3 separate regions of the Homo sapiens genome follow, and all the other regions are linked to region 2. Evidence: promoter capture Hi-C in human tissues and cell types (Jung and others, 2019). All regions are on one chromosome and are shown on one strand. The core of a region is centred on a gene start or on the middle of the fragment in contact, and the rest is flanking DNA. Distances in the headings are between cores, read along the strand shown. Region 1 overlaps BICRAL (BICRA like chromatin remodeling complex associated protein). Region 2 holds the start of GUCA1B (guanylate cyclase activator 1B). Region 3 overlaps BICRAL (BICRA like chromatin remodeling complex associated protein).

Region 1 (3,293 bases), core at 261-2,760, 670 kb before region 2:
CCCAAATCTTTGGCTGTATTGCAATGGTTGTTTCAATTTGTAATCTCCAACTAAACATTTCCTAACCATGGATTAACAATATAGTTACTGACTGGTTTCTTTTAACAGTATTTATCCAACATAACAAAATAAACTGCAATTTGTTATAGTTTTTTTTTTTTTACAAAACATTTTATAAATATTTTTACAAAATGTATACAAAGCAATTTCAAGTGAGACGTACTATACAAATGAAGGTATTTAAGCAAATAAAGCCCACACCACACTGACAGCGAGTGACGCGTCCTCTTTAAGTAAAGTCAGTCTGTAAGGCCTCCCTAATCTAACAGAATCTACTAAATCCTTCAGAGCTAAAATATTTCTTTTTCATAATTGCCAGATTAAAATTTTGCTTCATCTTCAGGAAGTACTTAAGGACACAGAAAATCAAATGCTTAATAACAAATTCACGCTTTTCCACAACAGAAAAAAAAAAAAAAAAAGAAAATGATTTTTGTTACTGAGTACAAATAGTTCTAAAACTTAACTTTGACGAATGAACCTGAACAACTGAATGTTGGCCATCCGAGGCTGAGCTCTCCTACCCTTCACTAGAGGGGGCTCGACATGCGAGTTATGACCCATGTGCGTAGAACCTAATCACAGGAGTGAAATACATGTCATAATCTTCATTTGTCATTATCTAGAATCCTTCCTCCATAAAAAGTAAACTTACATACAATGACACAAAAATTTACAAGTTTCATTTTGGTAAATTAGGCTCTCCATTTGCTAGACAAGTGTTAGGGCTTAAAAACCCTTTAGGATGGTATATAGAAAAGCTAGGATTGGGACAGCAGGGCAGGATAGGGAAGAAAGAGAGGTGACAAATGTACATGAAGCTTATCTTGTCTCTTGAGAATTCCACTGATTTGCAGTAATTAATGTAACTCACTAGCAGCCCACATGAAGGCTTCCAGGGATAAAGTTCTGCAATGAGAAGAATTTGATTAGGAAGGATCATCTTGCTAGGAATTAGGGGAGCATGAGCCCCAAGGGAAGAAAAGCCTATGAAATCATGGAGTTTAGGGCAGGGTGTTACCCTAGGACTACCCAAACAGAAAGTACCAACTGGCGACACCAACTTATCTAATATGTTACAATACAGGAAAAAGGGGAAATCTGCAACTTGGACATTGGCACAAATAAGGAAAAAATGGTAACCCTAAAATGGGCCAGATTTTCCAATTTGTATTGGCTGGGGCATGTGGCTGGGGTGAAGGTACGTTGCTATTATGAAGACTGGCCATCTCACAGGGTTTTCTGTGTGTAGTGGGACACAGGGGCACCGGGGTATAGGTCTTCTGTTGCTGTGTTTTCTAATTAGAAGCCTTCCTTTCCATCACAGGCCAATCTGGAAAAGAAATGCCCAACATGATGACAATGGGGGTCATCCCCATGTTGGCGACAGCCAGAAGCAGATTCTGGCAACACATTAAAGTGAAGACCAGTGGCTGCACCTCCAGAGCCAGGGAGATAAACAGAATAAATGAGAGAGTATGCACACTAAGAAGGAGAGTGAGTGTGCACACACTGTAACAAAAATGACCTCTGGATCCGAGCAGCTCAGATACATGCACGTGTGTGTATGTGTGGGAGAAGAGTGCATAAAAATACTATCATGTAGCTTTCCCAATGAGAGGAGATAAGTGATGGTTACAATGACATTAAGAATAAAGGTAACAACAGAAATGGGATAACCTGGGGCAGGTATACGAGAAAGGAAAACGGAGAATACTCCCTGACAAGAAATAAAAATAAATAAAGCAGTAAGCCATGCTCACTAATATGAACACAGGCCAAACAGAAACCATGACAGGGCATATCCTTTGGCTCTCAAATGGGAATCCCATGTCTCAGATCTTTCCTTTCAGTGGTGGGCTAGCTGGTTACCTTTGGTTTGTCTGTGTTTTGGTAATGAATTGCTGCCAGGGGTCACTACTGTTCTCAGACAAGAAGCATAAACAAGGCCAGAGTCTCCTTAAAGTTTAAACTGAAAAATTACAACATAATAATTTTCAAATGAAAGTGCTTTTGATGCTTGGTATTTGTTGTGGGAGAGGGTGCAAAGAGAGGTTAAATGAAACAAAATCCAGCAACAAACAAAAACATACATTATATGTTGACTATATCCAATTATAAAATGCAAAACTTGTTTTTTCTCAATAGTTAACATATATATGCTTTTACATATATACATATTAATATTATAACCCTCATGGCTCTATCCCGGCCTCCTCTGTACACTGTGCCTCTTAACTGGTTTCCATTTTCCTTTATTTAGCCTGGTGAAATTATTTCAAATTTTGCTGCTGTAACTAAGAACAGAACATTCCCTAGGTGAAATTCAACATAGATATGCCTAAAAGCATGAGGTTTTGCTCCGGAAGCATCAGAAAAGCACTTGAACCATCAATAGGGAAGCCCTGCAATGCCCTGCGTATGTGCTACTGGCTTTTCCACCAGGGCTGCGGGTCCCTGGCAGCACAGCCAGCAATTTACTGCTCAAAGATGGCTGAGGGGGAAGAACCATGTGGTCTTCCCCTCAACAATAACAACAAAACACACACAAAAAAACTCAAAATAATAATAATAAAAAAACCCAAAACTAAATTTGCAGATGCAGTGGGATATTCTTTAAAAAGTAGCTTCTATCCGTCTCGTTTGATTTTAGTAAGTCTGTTCTTTTCAAATGACTTATGATTGTCAAAATTTTACCAAGGGCCAAGTATACTGTGGTCTCATTGAGTTACAGTGTTTTTAAAAAACAAAACAAATAAACAAAATGCCTATAAGCACTTTCATAACACTTGAAATGAGTGGGGCCTATCAGACTGCTTTCTGCCAAGGATTAATTTTACTAAAGGATCTCCCTGTAATCACGACAAGTATTGCTCTTAAACAAAGAACAGGATTGAGATTAGAAAGAATAACCTGTGATGAAAGATCAAGCAGGCTGGAGACAGGAGACCATTTCCATTTGCTTTTGCCAGGAACGAATGTAACTGGTCCGGGGTGGGGTCTCGGGGTGGGGTCTCGGGGCGGGGTAGGGGGAGGACTGCTGCTATTAACACTCTAGGATACTATTTACAGCTGCTTCTAAAATGGAGTCAGTTTCTACAACACCTTCACTGTGGTCCGGGATGAACTTTTCCAGGCAGTTTTCCTGTGAAGCCATAGGAGAAAAGTTGGGGAAATCTAACTCAACAGAGCCGCTAACCGTGGGGTCACTCTGGGGCTGCCGTCCCGCCTTT
Region 2 (3,405 bases), core at 451-2,950:
GCAGAGAACAGTGAGAGAGGAGGTCAGGCCTGGAGATGTGCAAAACAATTCAGGCTGAACACCCAGTGAGGGATGGGTAGGTTAAGGATAGATTCACTGGAACTGCTGCCTCTGAAGTCTTCTAGAAAAATGAGTGTCACTGGGCGTGGTGGCTCATGCCTATAATCCCAGCACTTTGGGAGACCAAGGCGGGTGGATCACTTGAGGTCAGGAGTTTGAAACCAGCCTGGCCAACATGATGAAACCCCATCTCTACTAAAAATACAAAAATTAGCTGGCTGCTGGGTGCATCAAACCAACATGGCACATGTATACCTATGTAACAAACCTGTATGTTGTGCACATGTACCCTAGAACTTAAAGTATAATAAAAAAAAAAAAAAGAAGAAAAAATAGCTGGGTGTTGTGGTGTGCACCTGTAATCCCAGCTGCTCGGGAGGCTGAGGCATGAGAATCACTTGAACCCGGAGGCGGAAGTTGCAGTGAGCCGAGATCACACCACTGCACTCCAGCCTGGGCGACAGAGCGAGACCCTGTCTCAAAAAATAGAAATTTAAAAAAAAAAAGCAAAGAAAAAGAAAAATGTGTGTCCCTGGTCTTTTGATTTCTTGGAGGTGTCATTTTTATGTTACATTAAAATAAGCATGAATATGTAATTGTTCAAAAGCAAATTTTACATGACCTATAATGTAAAAGTAAGAGCCTTCAAAGATATTTTAGGCCATGCTCCCAGATCCTTCTCACATGTTAGTATTTTGGAGGAAATGTGAAAAAGGCACTACCCCTAGGTCTTGTGTGAAGGGTTGGAGGGAGGCATTTGTAGTTTAAATCAGAAAGTGAAAAGCTCCCAAGATGAAAGGTGTAATCTGGAAAGGAGCTTCAGGGACCGAGTTAGCCTGGGAAGAGAGTTGCTCACCTAGAGCCCTTCCCATCATAGATTCTGCCTCTTTTCACTAGACCGTCTGAGGGGCGAGTCCCAGATCACCAGCAGATTCTGTTTTATGGCCTAGGACTTGATCTCACTTCCTCTCTGGATTTGAGTCTCCTGTCTCCAAGATGGGCCTCCCTGAAGCAATGTGAGGCCCAGCTAAAGAGATAGGGAGTGAGTGAGATGGGAGGATCCCAGCCTAGCACCCCGACTCTTTCTTCACTCTGCATCTCTCTGCTTACCTCTCAGTTTCTTCCCCTTCTACCTCTTCAGAGTCTACCAGGGCCAGCTTGGTTGCTTTGTTGACAAGGCTAAGGGAAGGAGTGAGGCTGGAGGAGTTTAGGCTGGAGGTCAGAACTTCCTGGGGAATCTCTTTTTTTTTTTTTTTTTTTTTTTTTGAGACAGAGTCTCACTCTGTCCCCCAGGCTGGAGTGCAGTGGTGTGATCGCAGCTCACTGCAACCTCTATCTCCCAGGTTCAAGTGATTCTCCTGCCTCAGCCTCCTGAATAGCTGGGATTACAGGTACCCACCACCATGCCCAGCTAATTTTTTGTATTTTTAGTAGAGACAGGATTTCACCATGTTGGCCAGGCTGGTCTCGAACTCCTGACCTTGTGATCCACCCACCTCGGCCTCCCAAAGTGCTGGGATTACAGGCATGAGCCACCGCACCCGGCCACCTGGGGAATCTTCTAATAGTCTTAGGGCAGCTTAGCTGGCCTGGACCCACCTCCCTTGCCACCTGCCCCCTGCACCGACTGATCATGTTCAGTCACCCAGGAGATGATGGAGAGGCTGATCAGGCCTCCTGGAAAGGGAGGAAGAGGGCCCTAGTTGGAGAGATCCATCAGCAGAAGCCAGGGAGGAGATACAGACCCTTGCTCCCTGATGCTCCTCAGGGCTAGCATGGGGCAGGAGTTTAGCTGGGAGGAGGCGGAGGCAGCTGGCGAGATAGATGTGGCGGAGCTCCAGGAGTGGTACAAGAAGTTTGTGATGGAGTGCCCCAGCGGCACACTCTTTATGCATGAGTTTAAGCGCTTCTTCAAGGTCACAGACGATGAGGAGGCCTCCCAGTATGTAGAGGGCATGTTCCGAGCCTTCGACAAGAATGGGGTAAGGCACCCTGAAGGGAAGGACCAGTGGCCAGTCCACCTGGCGCCTTCCTCCACAAGTGTCCTCAGGGAGAGCTCCCAGTTCCCCACTCCTCGGCTCTTTCTCTGCTCTTCTTTCCACTCCGTCTCTCTTTACCTTTTCTGTCTCACTCACCAAACCCTTCTGTCTCTTCTCTTCCTTTTGTCCCTTTCCATCTTCTCTGTCTCTCCTTCCCTCCCTCCATCTCTTAGCTGTCGGCTGATGCTCCCTGTGTCCTCTTCTTGAGAGCTGAAGGGCGACTGGCAGACAGTCCAGGTCCTCTCTTTGTGTATTTTTGACCAAGACTCTGCAGCCCAATGACCGGGTTTTCGCATCTGCCAGAGCCCCTGTCACTCTAAACACTAGGAGCAAAAGAGATGTTCTAAATGAGACAAGGTATCTTAGCATGGGCTATGAGCTCCCTCTTGTTGGGGTTCTTCTGAGACTGGTCAGATCCTCCCTGTCAAGAATGCTGGAAGAGGCTCCTGCATGTATTGGGAGACTGGGCGAATGACTGCAAAAGCCCCTTTCAGCTCTTCAAGTCCTGGAAGGTTTCATTAAATCATTCAGACTAGAGTTTCTCTAAGCCCACAATGTCACTAGCAGCTAAGAAGATAACACATCTTGTAAATGCACCAGGGGATTGAATTTTAAATTTCAATTCAGTTAAAAACCCCTTGATTATTTAAGGTTATCCAGTTCAGTGCCCTGGCAATCCTCAAATACCTCAAATACCTCAAATGCCCTGGTATTTGCCTCAAATACCAATTTAATCTGAAGAAAGTGTCAGTTCTCCATTCCTCAGTGCGTGGAGAACTTAGCTTTCTAAGCTGAATCACTGGGAATGCCACTTCAGGTCTCATCCTGTCGCTGGTACCAGTCAGTGCACGTCCCCACAGTGCCTGTCCCGGGACAGGAGGGTGAGGTCAGCACCTTCAATTCAACAGAACCTCCTTAGAGATGAACCCCATCGACCACCCCACAGGGCACAGAGCCAGTTTCGGACTTCTCAGCGCTCCGCCTCTCTTAGGTCTCCTCTGAATCAGCAGCAACCCTGGGTGGGAGGGGCAGACTTTTGTTATTCCAAATTAAATGATGAGAAAGCTGGGCAAAAGGGAATGAATCGATTTGCCCAAGGTCTTAAGTGCTCCTGCCTAGAAGGCAGGTTTTTTAAAGAGAGAAGATGACTTTTTAAAATAATTGATGTTTTTTTAAAATGTAAGAAAAGTAAACAAATATATCAGGTCATAAATAATAAGACTCATTTAAGTCCATCAATCTTCCCCAGATTCATCTAAAAATCAATACGATCATGATTCAAGATCCAAAGGGCTGATTAAGCCCC
Region 3 (3,487 bases), core at 374-2,873, 620 kb before region 2:
CCTTAGGAGTCATAAAACAGCCTGGCCAACATGGTGAAACTCTGTCTCTGCTAAAAATACAAAAAAAATGAGCCAGGCGTGGTGGTGCGTGCCTGTAATCCCAGCTACTATGGGGGCTGAGGCATGAGAATCTCTTGAACCAGGAGGTGGAAGTTGCAATGAGCTGAGATTGCACCACTGCACTCCAGCCTGGGTGATAGAGTGAGACCCTGTCTCAAAAAAAAAGAAAAAAAAAAGTAATAGAACAGGATTTCAAAGACTGCGCAAACTGAAATTTGGTATGTGGCCACTATTACAAATGTTTTTGTTTCCTCCTTTATCTGCTTATCTGTTCTTTTGCTTCTTTCAAAAATAATAGCCTAGTGGCTGAGGCAGGCGGATCACCTGAGGTCAGGAGTTCGAGACCAGCCTGGCCAACATGGTGAAACCCTGTTCTACTAAAAATACAAGAATTAGCCGACCATGGTGGCGCATGCCTGTAATCCCAGCTACTTGGGAGGCTAAGGCAGGAAGGAGAATCGCTTGAACCTGGGAGGCAGAGGCTGCAGTGAGCCAAGATCGTGCCACTGAACTCCAACCTGGGTAACAGACCAAGACTTCATCTAAAAAAAAAAAAAAAAAAAAATATATATATATATATATATACACACACACACACACACACATGCATGTATATGTATGTATACGTATATATACATATACATACATGTATGTGTATATATATGTATGTATACATGTGTGTTGTGTATATATATAATTTATATATATACATATACATATGTGTATGTATATAGCCTAGTGAAGATGGCTTGAACTCAGGGGGTTGAGACTACAGTCAGCTGAGATCACGCCACTGCACTCCAGCCTGGGTGACAAAGTGAGACCGTGTCTCAAAAAAAAAAAAAAAAACCCACCAAGAGCCAATACGAGATACCTTACCAAAAACTACTGACATTTGCTTTACTTGTAGTAAGTTGCTATAACATGAGTCATAACTTCCTAATAATTTACAAACAAATTTACCTCTAAAAGGTGCTGAGGTTAGCAAATTATTGAGAGACTTTAAGCAGACATGAACTACGGAATAGTTGCAGTCTTCAAAATCACATTTTTACCCCCGGACCTATTGAAGGTAAAATGAACTGCAGTCACTTTATTTTTACTGACATATTTACTACTTCTAGTGTTCTTCATTCTCTTAAGTAAATCCAGATTTCCATCTGGTATCATTTTCCTTCTCCTGAAAGGAATCCTTTAATATTTTTTGTAGTGCAGGTCTTTGCTGATTAATTCTTTCAGTTTTGATATATCTTTAAAGAGTGTGAGATGGGCACGGTGGCTCACGCCTGTAATCCTAGCACTTTGGGAGGCTGAAGTGGGTGGATTGCTTGAATCCAGGAGTTTGAGACCCTCCTGCGCAACATGGAAAAACCCCACCTCTACAAAAAATAAAAAAATTAGCTGGGCATGGTGGTGCGCACCTGTAATCCCAGCTGCTCAGGAGGCTGAGGTGGGAGGACCACCTGAGCCTGGGGAGGTTGAGGCTGCAGTGAGCCGTGATTGTGTGACTGCATTCCAGCCTGGGAGACAGACAGAGATTCTATCCCCACCCCCACAAAAAGTGTTTATCTTGCCTTCGTTTTTGAAATATATTTTCACTGGGCATATTGTTCAAGATTGATGAGTTTTTTTCCTTTCAGTTCTTTAAAGATACTGATGTACTATTTCTCATTTGCATTATTTCCAAAGAAAAGTCTGCCATCATTCTTACCTTTCTTTTTTTCATAATGTGTCATTTTTTCCTCTGGACACTTTAAATATTTTTCTCTTTACCACTGGTTTTAAGCAATCTGATTATGAAAAGCCTTGGTGTAGTTCTCTTCATGCTTCCAGTGGTTAGGGTTCACTAAGCTTCTAGAATCTGCAGGTTTATAGTTTCCCTCCAATTTAGAAAAATTTCAGTCATTAATTTTTTCAAATATTTTATGCCCCTCCCTCTTCTTTGGGGACTACAATTACATCATTAGACTATTTGAAGTGTCCCACAGCTCAATGATGCTGTATTTTCTTTCAGTCTTTTATTTTTTTAATTTAATTTACTAATTTTCTTGAGACAGGGTTTTGCTCTGCTGCCCAAGCAGCAGTGCAGTGGCAGGATCACAGCGGATTGCAGCCTCGACCTCCTGGGCTCAGGTGATCCTCCCACCTCAGCCTCTTGAGTAGCTGGGACCACAGGCACTTGCCATCATGCCCAGCTAATTTCTGTATTTTCTGTAGAGACAGGGTTTTACTATGTTGTCCAGGAGGCTGGTCCTGAACTCCTGGGCTCAAGCGATCCTCTTGCCTTGGCCTCCTAAAGTGCTGGGATTACAGGTGTGAGCCACCATGCCTGGCCTTTTTTAGTATTTTAATCTCTCCGGCTTTCATTTAGGATAGCTTCTATTCATATATCTTCAGATTCATAAATCTTTTCTTCTGCAGTCTCTAATCTTCTGTTAATCCCATCCAGTGCGCTTTTATTTTAAAACACTGTAGTTTTCATCTCCAGAAGTTCAATTTGGGTCTTTTTAAAATACTCCATGTCATTATTATTTAAAATTTTTTTTTGCTTTGTTGTCTTGGCCCAAGATGAGATTCCATGCCATTATTTGTTTAATCTTTCCACTATTTTCTTGAACTTATATAAGATAGTAACAACTTAAACAAATTTTTTTTGAAGAGGCAGGGTCTCACTGTGTTGCCCAGGGTGGTCTTGAACCCCTGGTCTCAAGTGATCCTCCTGCCTCAGCCTCCCAAAGTAATGGGATTACAGGCATGAGCTCCATGGCTAGCTAATTTTTGTATTTTTTGTAGATACAGGGTTTCACCATGTTGCCCAGGCTGGTCTCATACTCCTGGCCTCAAGCAATCCGCCACCTCCGCCACACAAAGTGTTAGGATTACAGGCATAAGCCACCTCATCTGGCCAACAAAAAAAATGATTAATTCTATCATTTGTATAATTTCTGCATCTCTTTCTATTGATTGATTTTGTTGTTGTGGTTGGTCCCAAATTTGCGTGCCTGGTCATTTTTTTATTGGATGTCAGACATTGTTAATTTTACATTATCAGGTGTTGGATATTTTTGAGCTTTGTCTAGGACACAGTTAAGTTACTTTACAAAGTTTCTTTACAAAATGTCTGATCCTTTTAAGGATTGCTTTTAAGCTTTGTCAATCTTTAGGATTCATTTTGCCCTATAGTGAGGCAATAAATACCCTTCTGAGTACTTCATCTGATATCCCATGAATTACAAGGGTTTTTGCACTCTTGCAGATGGGAACACAAACTATTCTCTGCCCTATGTGAGCTCCAAGTAGTGTTTCTTCCCAGAACTTAGGAAGTTTTCTTAAACACATCAGTTATCAGCTGAAAACTTGAGAAAGACTCTGTAGATCTCCAGATAGTAGAGTGGAGTGCAGTGCTCTCTCTCTCTGGTACTCTGGG

The links. Contacts are between HindIII fragments. The study calls those that stand out against the background at their distance.
Region 1: a contact is called between a fragment that was not itself captured here and the fragment with the promoter of GUCA1B in region 2, in 1 of the 25 tissues and cell types used here (bladder).
Region 3: a fragment that was not itself captured here is called in contact with the fragment with the promoter of GUCA1B in region 2 in 1 of the 25 tissues and cell types used here (spleen).

What each region holds. Positions count from the first base shown.
Region 1 is chr6:42,865,260-42,868,552 of GRCh38, reverse strand. It overlaps BICRAL (BICRA like chromatin remodeling complex associated protein), which reads right to left. Exons shown (of 13, transcript NM_001393499.1): 13 at 1-3,293. The coding sequence ends at 3,107. Among named protein-coding and RNA genes, the nearest start is that of RPL7L1, 13 kb to the left of the region's middle. The HindIII fragment of the contact is 8,715 bases long and covers 1-3,293 here.
Region 2 is chr6:42,193,251-42,196,655 of GRCh38, reverse strand. GUCA1B (guanylate cyclase activator 1B) reads left to right here and starts at 1,700. Exons shown (of 4, transcript NM_002098.6): 1 at 1,700-2,042. The coding sequence starts at 1,836. The HindIII fragment of the contact is 9,949 bases long and covers 1-3,405 here.
Region 3 is chr6:42,811,658-42,815,144 of GRCh38, reverse strand. The region is part of intron 2 of BICRAL (BICRA like chromatin remodeling complex associated protein); the gene reads right to left. Among named protein-coding and RNA genes, the nearest start is that of BICRAL, 31 kb to the right of the region's middle. The HindIII fragment of the contact is 4,753 bases long and covers 1-3,487 here.